2 separate regions of the Homo sapiens genome follow, and region 1 is linked to region 2. Evidence: promoter capture Hi-C in human tissues and cell types (Jung and others, 2019). All regions are on one chromosome and are shown on one strand. Each heading gives the region's core, a stretch centred on a gene start or on the middle of the fragment in contact. The rest is flanking DNA. Distances are from core to core; before and after follow the strand shown.

Region 1 (4,003 bases), core at 312-2,811, 160 kb before region 2:
AGCCCAGGGAGGCCTGGGCAAGGGGGGATGCGGCGCTGGGGCTCCTTCCCTCCCCTCCTGTTTGAGCTGATGTCACGCCTGCTCCTTGGCGCAACCTTACTCCCGGCTCAGGTGGGAGGGCAACCGAGTCGGCCTGGGTTCAAGTTCTCCAGAGTGCCGGCCCTCCACTCGAGTTCCCCTGCCCCGGGGAATGCCCTTTCCCTACACCTGCAATCCCCTGAGGGACGGGAGGAGGCCGGTAGTCCATGAGCATCTGTCACTGGCTGTGCGGCTCTGGGCGCTCTGGGCCAGTTACTGAACCGCACGTCCCTCCTTTTCTCTGACACCACAGGGACACATCTCAACCATGCTGGGCTGAACCCAGGAAAGGGCCCCATGGCAGCAGTGCCTCTTGTCCTCACGTCTAGCAGAGGCGTCCATGGCAAGGGGCTGGCCTGGGAGCCTGGCTAGGTTGGGGGACTGAGGAAGCGCCTGGCTCCGACTTCCCAGCACTAGGACCAGGAGTGTCCTCGGCCCCTGCCGCTGTCTGGCCCCACCAGCCCTGATCTCACGGCAGCAGCAGCTTTCCTGGTTCTGGGCCACGTCGGTGTCTTCCTGGCAGCAGCAAACTCCTGTGCTCGGCTGGCCCCCCGTGGGTGCCTGTGAGCACTTGCAGAGCAGCTCAGCTATTGGTATTCCCACCACCCTCCCGCCCAGACCTCCGGGCACCCCTAGCCTCCCTGGGCCTCCCACCTAGACCTCAGCATGCCCTTGGCCTCCTCGGGCCTCCCGTCCTGGCCTCAGCACGCCCTTGGCCTCCCCGGGCCTCCCGTCCTGGCCTCAGCACGCCCTTGGCCTCCCCGGGCCTCCCGTCCTGGCCTCAGCATGCCCTTGGCCTCCCCGGGCCTCCCGTCCTGGGCTCAGCATGCCCTTGGCCTCCCCGGGCCTCCCGTCCTGGGCTCAGCATGCCCTTGGCCTCCCCGGACCTCCCGTCCTGGCCTCAGCATGCCCTTGGCCTCCCCGGGCCTCCCATCCTGGCCTCAGCATGCCCTTGGCCTCCCCGGGCCTCCCGTCCTGGCCTCAGCATGCCCTTGGCCTCCCCGGGCCTCCCGTCCTGGCCTGCGTAGCCGTTGCTCTGCAGCTTCCTCTGTTGAACTTGTGCGTGGCACTCACGAGCCCAGGCTTTACTGAGCACATCCTGTGTGCCAGGCGTGGCCGGTGACCAGCAGGTCGCCACGATGTGTGGACAGAAGTGCAGGGTGGGGGCTGACCCGTTGGTCACAGGGCAGTCAGCAGCTGAGCTTAGACTTCCGGAACCCAGGTCTCTGAACCCACAGCCCGTGTTTGGGTCACAGTGTGCTGCTGAGATGGGAGCGGGTGGAGGCGTGTGGCTGGGGTTTCCCAGGCGTGTGGATGGGCGCGGGGCTGGCCTGCCAGGGTGCAGCGATGGGCGCGGGGCTGGCCTGCCAGGGTGCAGCGATGGGCGCGGGGCTGGCCTGCCAGGGTGCAGCGATGGGCGCGGGGCTGGCCTGCCAGGGTGCAGCGATGGGCGCGGGGCTGGCCTGCCAGGGTGCAGCGATGGGCGCGGGGCTGGCCTGCCAGGGTGCAGCGATGGGCGTGGGGCTGGCCTGCCAGGGTGCAGTGATGGGTGTGGGGCTGGCCTGCCAGGGTGCAGACCCCATGCATCTGGTTGCTGTGAAGCTGCTGGGGGGAGCAGGAGGGGTCTGCACCAGGTCTCCAGGCTCTGCGGCCGTCATGGAGAGAGCTTGAGGTTGCTCCTATTCACTGGAGACAGCCGTTGTGGGGTCTTCAACGCTGAGGCCCGTGGGCTCCTGGGTGACCTGTGTGGGGGGCATAGATTAGCCCTGAGTGGGCCCAGGCATGAGGGCGTCTTGGAACTCATCTAACCCAGGTGGCAAACAGGGGCCGCCCGACTGCCAGGGAGAATTGACGAGCAGTGGCGTCCTGGAATTCCCGTGAGGTGGCGGGAGAAGATTCTATGATTGATCCGTCATGCCTGCCGTGGCTCAGGATGGGACCGGCCTCTCAAGCTACAGATCAAGAAACTGAGAAGGGAGTAGCCTAAAGTCACCATGAGAGTGGCCAGGTCTGGGCCGGCCTGGCCTCCACCCCGCAGAGACCATCTCAGCTCTGCTCGCTCAGCCTCGTCCCCGCCTCTGACATCCTTCCATTCCCGCTCATGGCCCTCTCTGTCTGCCACCACCCTCCCCGCCATGGGTGCTTAAAGCCCCCGGCAGCTGCCCTCCCGTCCCCCAACATGGCCCTTCCTGACATGCCAGCCCCTCCCAGCAGCAGAGCCTTCCCTGTCCTGAAGAAGACGGAGCCGAGCTCTGCCATCCAGGCGGCATCTGTGCACAACAGGAACACGGGGACCCCGTGCAAGCCTCATGGCTGCCATCAGGAGACATGACAGCGGGTGGCTCCTGTCCAGCACCTCCCGGGCTGGGGCAGGGCCGTGCAAAACACCATGCGCTCTCCCCATTTGGTCTCACAAGTGCCTGGGGGTGTCGAATGCAGGTGGATGATCATTTCTATATAGAAACACAGATGTGGAAACCATCTCCTGGGAGAACCGGTATTGCCAGGTTGGTGTGGGGCACCAGGCCCTTTCCAAGGGGATGCGCTGCAGACCTCTTAGTAACCCTTAGAATTATTCTCCACTCCACAGACTAGACAGGGGCGAGGAGCAGTTGGGCTGTTTGCTGGCACAGGCCGCAATCCACCATCCGAGCCCTGCACAAGCCTTCCCGACTTCTGAGACCTCACAAGCCCTCACTCAAATCGGGTCAGGATAAATGGCCCAGACTCCCCAAGGGTCTCTGGTGTGGCCCTAGGCCCCAGGACCTTCCAGTCACCTGCACCCTCGCTTGGAGAAGCATGCTTACCCTACAAGGCCCAGGGAAGATACCACCTCCTACAGGAAGCCTGCCTTGACTCCCCCAGTGGACGCTTACTCTCCCTGACTCAAAGGTTCTGCAGGACCTCACCCTCTGCCGGCTGCCCCTGTCACCCTGGTGTGGGGGCAGCGTGTGTGCCCCCCCTCTACCCAGCACTGTACTGATGCCCGATCTGGGGCTGGGGGAGCATTGTGGAGAAAATAGATGAACACTGTGGATCCAGGTGTCTCTGGCTCCTGAAAACTGCAGGTGAGGACCAGCCGAGGAGGGCGTCCCCAGCAGCCCCTGTCCGTACATGTTTGGCACCCAGACAGCCCCCATGTGGTCCTTGCAAAGAAAGGGGGCTGTGGCTGAGCCCAGCACATTGTGTGCAGGGACCGCCCTGGAGTGGACGCAGCGGGAGGGCTGGCCGCACCTCCCATGCACACCCTCTCCCCCAAGCCCCAGACGCGGAGCAGGAAAGAGTTAAGTCCTCTGTGAGCAACTGTGTGAAGGAAGTGGTAAACAATTTTTCTCTCCCTCGGCTAAATTAATATGCAAATTCCCAAGCCCCCCTCCATTCCCTTCCCCTGCCTTGAAATTAGCGAGGTAGAATGCTTGGGCTAATTATGCATTCAAACGAGCAGGCTGCGTTCGCCCGGCACTAAGAAGATGCGGAAAATGATTGTGAGAAGATGGAATTGACATTCGAACGCGGCCCTCCCAGTGCATCTGGAGCCACTCTCCTGCATCCAGCAGATGGAACCCGGCAGTGACCGCCGGCCACCCCCTGGCCCGGGAAAGGGCTGCAGCAACTAGCAGTCGGCTCTGCACCCTGGTCCAAGGTGAGGGAAGAGGGGGGCCCATGAGCAACCATCTAGACCCCCTTTTCCCCACTGCGGAACCCCACGTTGCCAGCCTGGCACATAGAGCTTCCCCAGGAGCCTTTGGTGCTCATATCCAGAGGTCAGAACCTCAGATGGGGGTGCTAGGGTGAAGGCCATGGCAGGCGGCAGGAGCCACAGAGGCTGGACTGGGTCCAGACAGGCGGCCTCAGGCCAGCCGTGTGAAGCAGAGCCTGGAGCTCTGCCAAGGGGCCTCCATGCAGGGCGGGTGGGGGCGGCAGG
Region 2 (3,898 bases), core at 155-2,654:
GAAAAGGCCAGCCCCCATGGAGAAGGCCAGGCGGTGGGGAGGGTCACACAACTCCAGGCCTGGGCAGACACAGACAGGTTGAAGTGGAGGCCTCGGGGAGGACTGGAACAGTTCCATTGGGAACTGCGGGGACCTATTGGTGACCTGCCCAGGAGCGGGATGCCCAAGGGACTCACTGCTCACTGTCCCTGCAGCTCGGGGCCCTCGGCAAGGGAGCCTCAGAGGCCTGCGGGCCACCCACTGCCCCTCCCCCAGTGACAGCAGCCCCCAGGGTACTCACGAGCCAGATACAGGGCGAGGAGGGCCCCTGCCAATGTGCCCCCGTGGAGTAGGCGCAGGACCAGCAGGGTAGGGAAGCTGGCAGCCAGGGCCTCACTGGCCCCCAGGCCTGTGGTCAGCACCAGGGAGGCCACAAAAACTGCCCGGCGTCCAAACCTGGTGGGCAGCGGGGGACATGCTTGGACAGGGTCAGGATAACCCAGGGTCCAACCTTCATCCTGGCAGCACCAGGTCTAGCTGAACCCTGAGAGTGGGCGGAGGGGAGGGCTGCTGGGCAGCAGGAAAAGGGAAGGGGCCTCACCGGTCACAGCCTGCTCCCAGGATGACACAGCCCAGCAGCCAGCCCAGGAGGTGGCTCACCTGCTCCAGCGGGACCTTCCAGCCGTCTCCACACACAAGGTTCCACTATGGGGAACAGCAGCCACGTGGAGGCCAGCTCAGGACCCTCCCCTGGGGACAGGTGCAGGGAGTCCCAGAATGGCTACTGGAAGGGGCCCTCCATGTCCTGCTCAATCCCTCCGTGGAGAGAAGGGGAAACTGAGGCATGAGAGGGCAAGGGGCTTGGTCCAGGTCACACAGCAGCCTCTCTGGTCTCCGGCAGCCCCTGCACAGGGGTCGGGGGGATCTGCCCACCCTAAGTTTTCTGCTTGTCCCTAGATAGGGCCTCCCCCACCTCCGCACACCATTGCTCTTCCCCCACGGCCAGCTCTTGTCCGACCCGTTTCCACCTCCTATTCCGAGGGACCCCGGGGACACCCAGGGCCTTGGTGGCGTCATAGACACAGCCCCCACCCCAGCCGGCCAAGGGTCATAGCCATGACACAGGCCTAAGAAATGAACCCCAGCACCTGCGCTGGTACCCACGCCCTCCCTGCCCTGCCCATTTCAAGAGGGACTCGGGCAGCGGCTGGAGAGCTGTGCTCAGCGGCATTTCCCGGTGAGGCCCTTGACCCTTGACCTCAGCTCTGCGCCTCCCCCCACCCCTTCCGGTTCCTGGGTCTTCTTGGCAAGCTTAATCTACTGCTGGGGGCCGTGCTATGCCCGAGATTTTACTTTCAAACCTGACGTTTTGGGAAAGCTGATGGGGCATTCCTGGATCCAGGCACCAAACAGGAGGAGGGCAGGTGGGAGGTGGGAGGGAGCAGGGTGGAGAGAGAAGCCCGGCGGGTTCCAGGGCCCCAGGCAGCCCTTGTGAAGATGTGGCAACCCCGTTCCAGTTTCCACACTGGGGCCAGTCCTCCCAGGATGGGGGATGGGGGCCTCGGGGTAAAGGCTGCCTCAGGGGTGTGCAGGTCTCAGCCCCAGCGCGGAAAGGCATGAAAGGGGCCTGGAGGTCCCTGCCGCCCGCCTCCCCATCTCTTCTCACGCAGATCGTCAAGGTTTCCCTTCAGGCAATGCAGTCTCTAGCCCAGCCTCTGCGCACCTCACTGATGGGAAGCCCACCTTCCCCAGTCTGTGCTGACCACGTCAGTCCCTCCAAGCAGAGACTCTGCCTTGGAAAGCCAGCCCAAAGCCACGGTCTGCTGAAGACGCTGGTGGTCCTGAAGCAAATTCCAGGCCCTGCTCCCCCACCGGCGCCTTCGGCTCCAATCCTCCAGCGCCCCAGGCCGCCCCGCGCCTGGCAGCTCCCAGGCCCAGATTCAGCCCCCGCCCGGCCCCTCTCCGCGGGTCCGGCCCGTGCGCGCCCGTCTGCGGCACCGTCGGGCCGGCGGCCGCCCCGGAGCAGGAAGCCCAGGAGGACGGCCGGGGGGCCCGGGTCAGAGGCGCCAGGTAGGATGGAGAAAGGACACCCAGGGCCTCGGCGGGCTGGGGGCGGGGAGGGCTGCGGGGCAGCAGGGACGGGGGCGCACCTGGGTGACCGGGCTTTGCAGGAGGCCGGCGCCGGGCAGCGCGTAGAGCCAGCCGCGTGTGCAGGGCCGGGTGCCGTTGCGTGCGGGCGCGGGGCGCGGGCCCGGGGCGGGTGCAGGGCGCGGGATCGGGGTAGCGCAGGAGCAGGCAGGGGCTCGCGGCTCGCGTGGGCCCCAGGCGCGGGATGGCGGCGTCCAGCAGCGCGGGTCCGCGCAGGGCGCGCAGCGCTGGGGGCAACAGCGTGGGGTCCGGTCGGCAGTGGGGCGCGGGCTGCGCGGTAAGCAGCTCCTCGGAGCTCAGCACCAGCCCCAGCACTATGCAGGGTACCCACGAGGCGGAGGCCAGCAGGCGCCGGGCCCGGCCAAAGCCGCCCGCAGCTCTCAGCACCCGCGCCTCCTGCTCCATCGGTCGCAGGCTGCGCTCGGGACGGGGCGGGGCCTGGACCAGGGCGGGCTCCTGGGGCGGGGCTTTGGGGCGAGGCATTAAGGGGCGGAGCCTGAGTCCAGTGGAGGCGGGGTGTGGGGGCGGGCGGTGTGAGGGCGGGGCCTAAGGCGTAAAGGGGCGGGGCCCGATCTGGGGCATAGGGCGGGGAGGTTGAGGGGCGGGAAGGTTGAGAGGCGGGGCTTGCGGCCGAACCGCGAGGGGGCGGGGCCCCGTGAGGGCGGCACGTGGGGGCCGGGGGCGTGGCAGGGGCGTGGCCGGGAGCGCTCAGGTGCCCTCGCGGCGCAGGTGCACTCAGGTTGCCCGGGGGCGCGCGGGCTCCGGCCGGCGTCCCGGGGTGGTCCCCGCGTGGGGCCGGGGGCGTCCGCGCGGGCGGGGCGAGGTCGGGGAGGGCAGCCGCCCGCCCTCCTCGGCGCTGGGAGCTTTCGGCTGGTACTGCGGGAGGAGCTCCCGGGTGACCCGCGGGTTCTGAAACCGCCGCTCGGGAGCTCGGGGCCTGCGCTGCGTCTACGGGGCGAGCGAGGGAGAACTGACGCCTTTCGCCCGGATCCTTCTCCCCTTCCGAGAACCAGGTAGGTCGCGTTTATTTTCAAGTCCGACTGTTTTCGCGGTAACATTTGTGGGAAACATCACGGTGGATCCTGTGGGTCGCTGAGTTTTCTGACTCCCGGTTTGTCTTATTTTGCTTTGTCAGTGGGCTCTGCGCTCGCGTTAACAATTCGAATGGGCACGTTTCTGCGTTTCAGAACGCTGTTCGCTTCCTCACACTTAGATTGAGGTGGAACTCACGTCACATAAACCGGGTCGCAAGGCTCAGCTCAGCGGGGCCCCCCCAACAGTGTTGCGGGACCAGCACCTTCTCGGGCTCCGGAACAGCTTCTACCCGAGCAGAGCCCGCCCGTCGGCGGCCGCTCTCCGCGCCCCTCCAGGGCCCTGCAGCCCCCGCCCTGCTCCGCGGACCAGCCTGTTCTGACCTCCGTTCAATGGAGCCCTACGTGCTGTGGCCTTTTGTGTTCCGGCGTCTTTCGCTTAGAATCGCGTCTTCAAGGTTCGTCCCCGGTGGAGCGGGGATCAGACCCGCGTTCCTTTTCAGGAGTGAATAATATTCCGTGGATGGAGCCCACACGTTTCTCTCTTCCTCTGTTGATGGACAGTGGGTTGTTTCCACTTTTTGCCTTTTGCGTCCAGTGACACGATGAACATTTTCGTACAAGTATTTGGGTGCCTGTTTCCATTTATCTTTGGTGTATACCTAGGCATGAATAGCTGGGCCTTAGGGTGTGAACTGTTTGTGAAACCGCAGAACGGTTTTCCGCAGCGGCGGTTCGAT

The links. The method cuts DNA at HindIII sites, captures the fragments that hold promoters and counts their contacts. A contact is called where the count stands out against the background at its distance.
Region 1: a fragment that was not itself captured here is called in contact with the fragment with the promoter of SLC22A31 in region 2 in 1 of the 25 tissues and cell types used here (dorsolateral prefrontal cortex).

The regions. Positions count from the first base shown.
Region 1 is chr16:89,041,126-89,045,128 of GRCh38, forward strand. No RefSeq gene overlaps it. Among named protein-coding and RNA genes, the nearest start is that of ACSF3, 51 kb to the right of the region's middle. The HindIII fragment of the contact is 7,491 bases long and covers 1-4,003 here.
Region 2 is chr16:89,199,133-89,203,030 of GRCh38, forward strand. It overlaps SLC22A31 (solute carrier family 22 member 31), which reads right to left and starts at 1,405. Exons shown (of 9, transcript NM_001384763.1): 1 at 1,346-1,405; 2 at 581-684; 3 at 281-435; 4 at 1-59. The coding sequence starts at 1,369. RefSeq lists enhancers at 1-308, 1,557-2,179 and a silencer at 2,472-2,561. The HindIII fragment of the contact is 13,129 bases long and covers 1-3,185 here.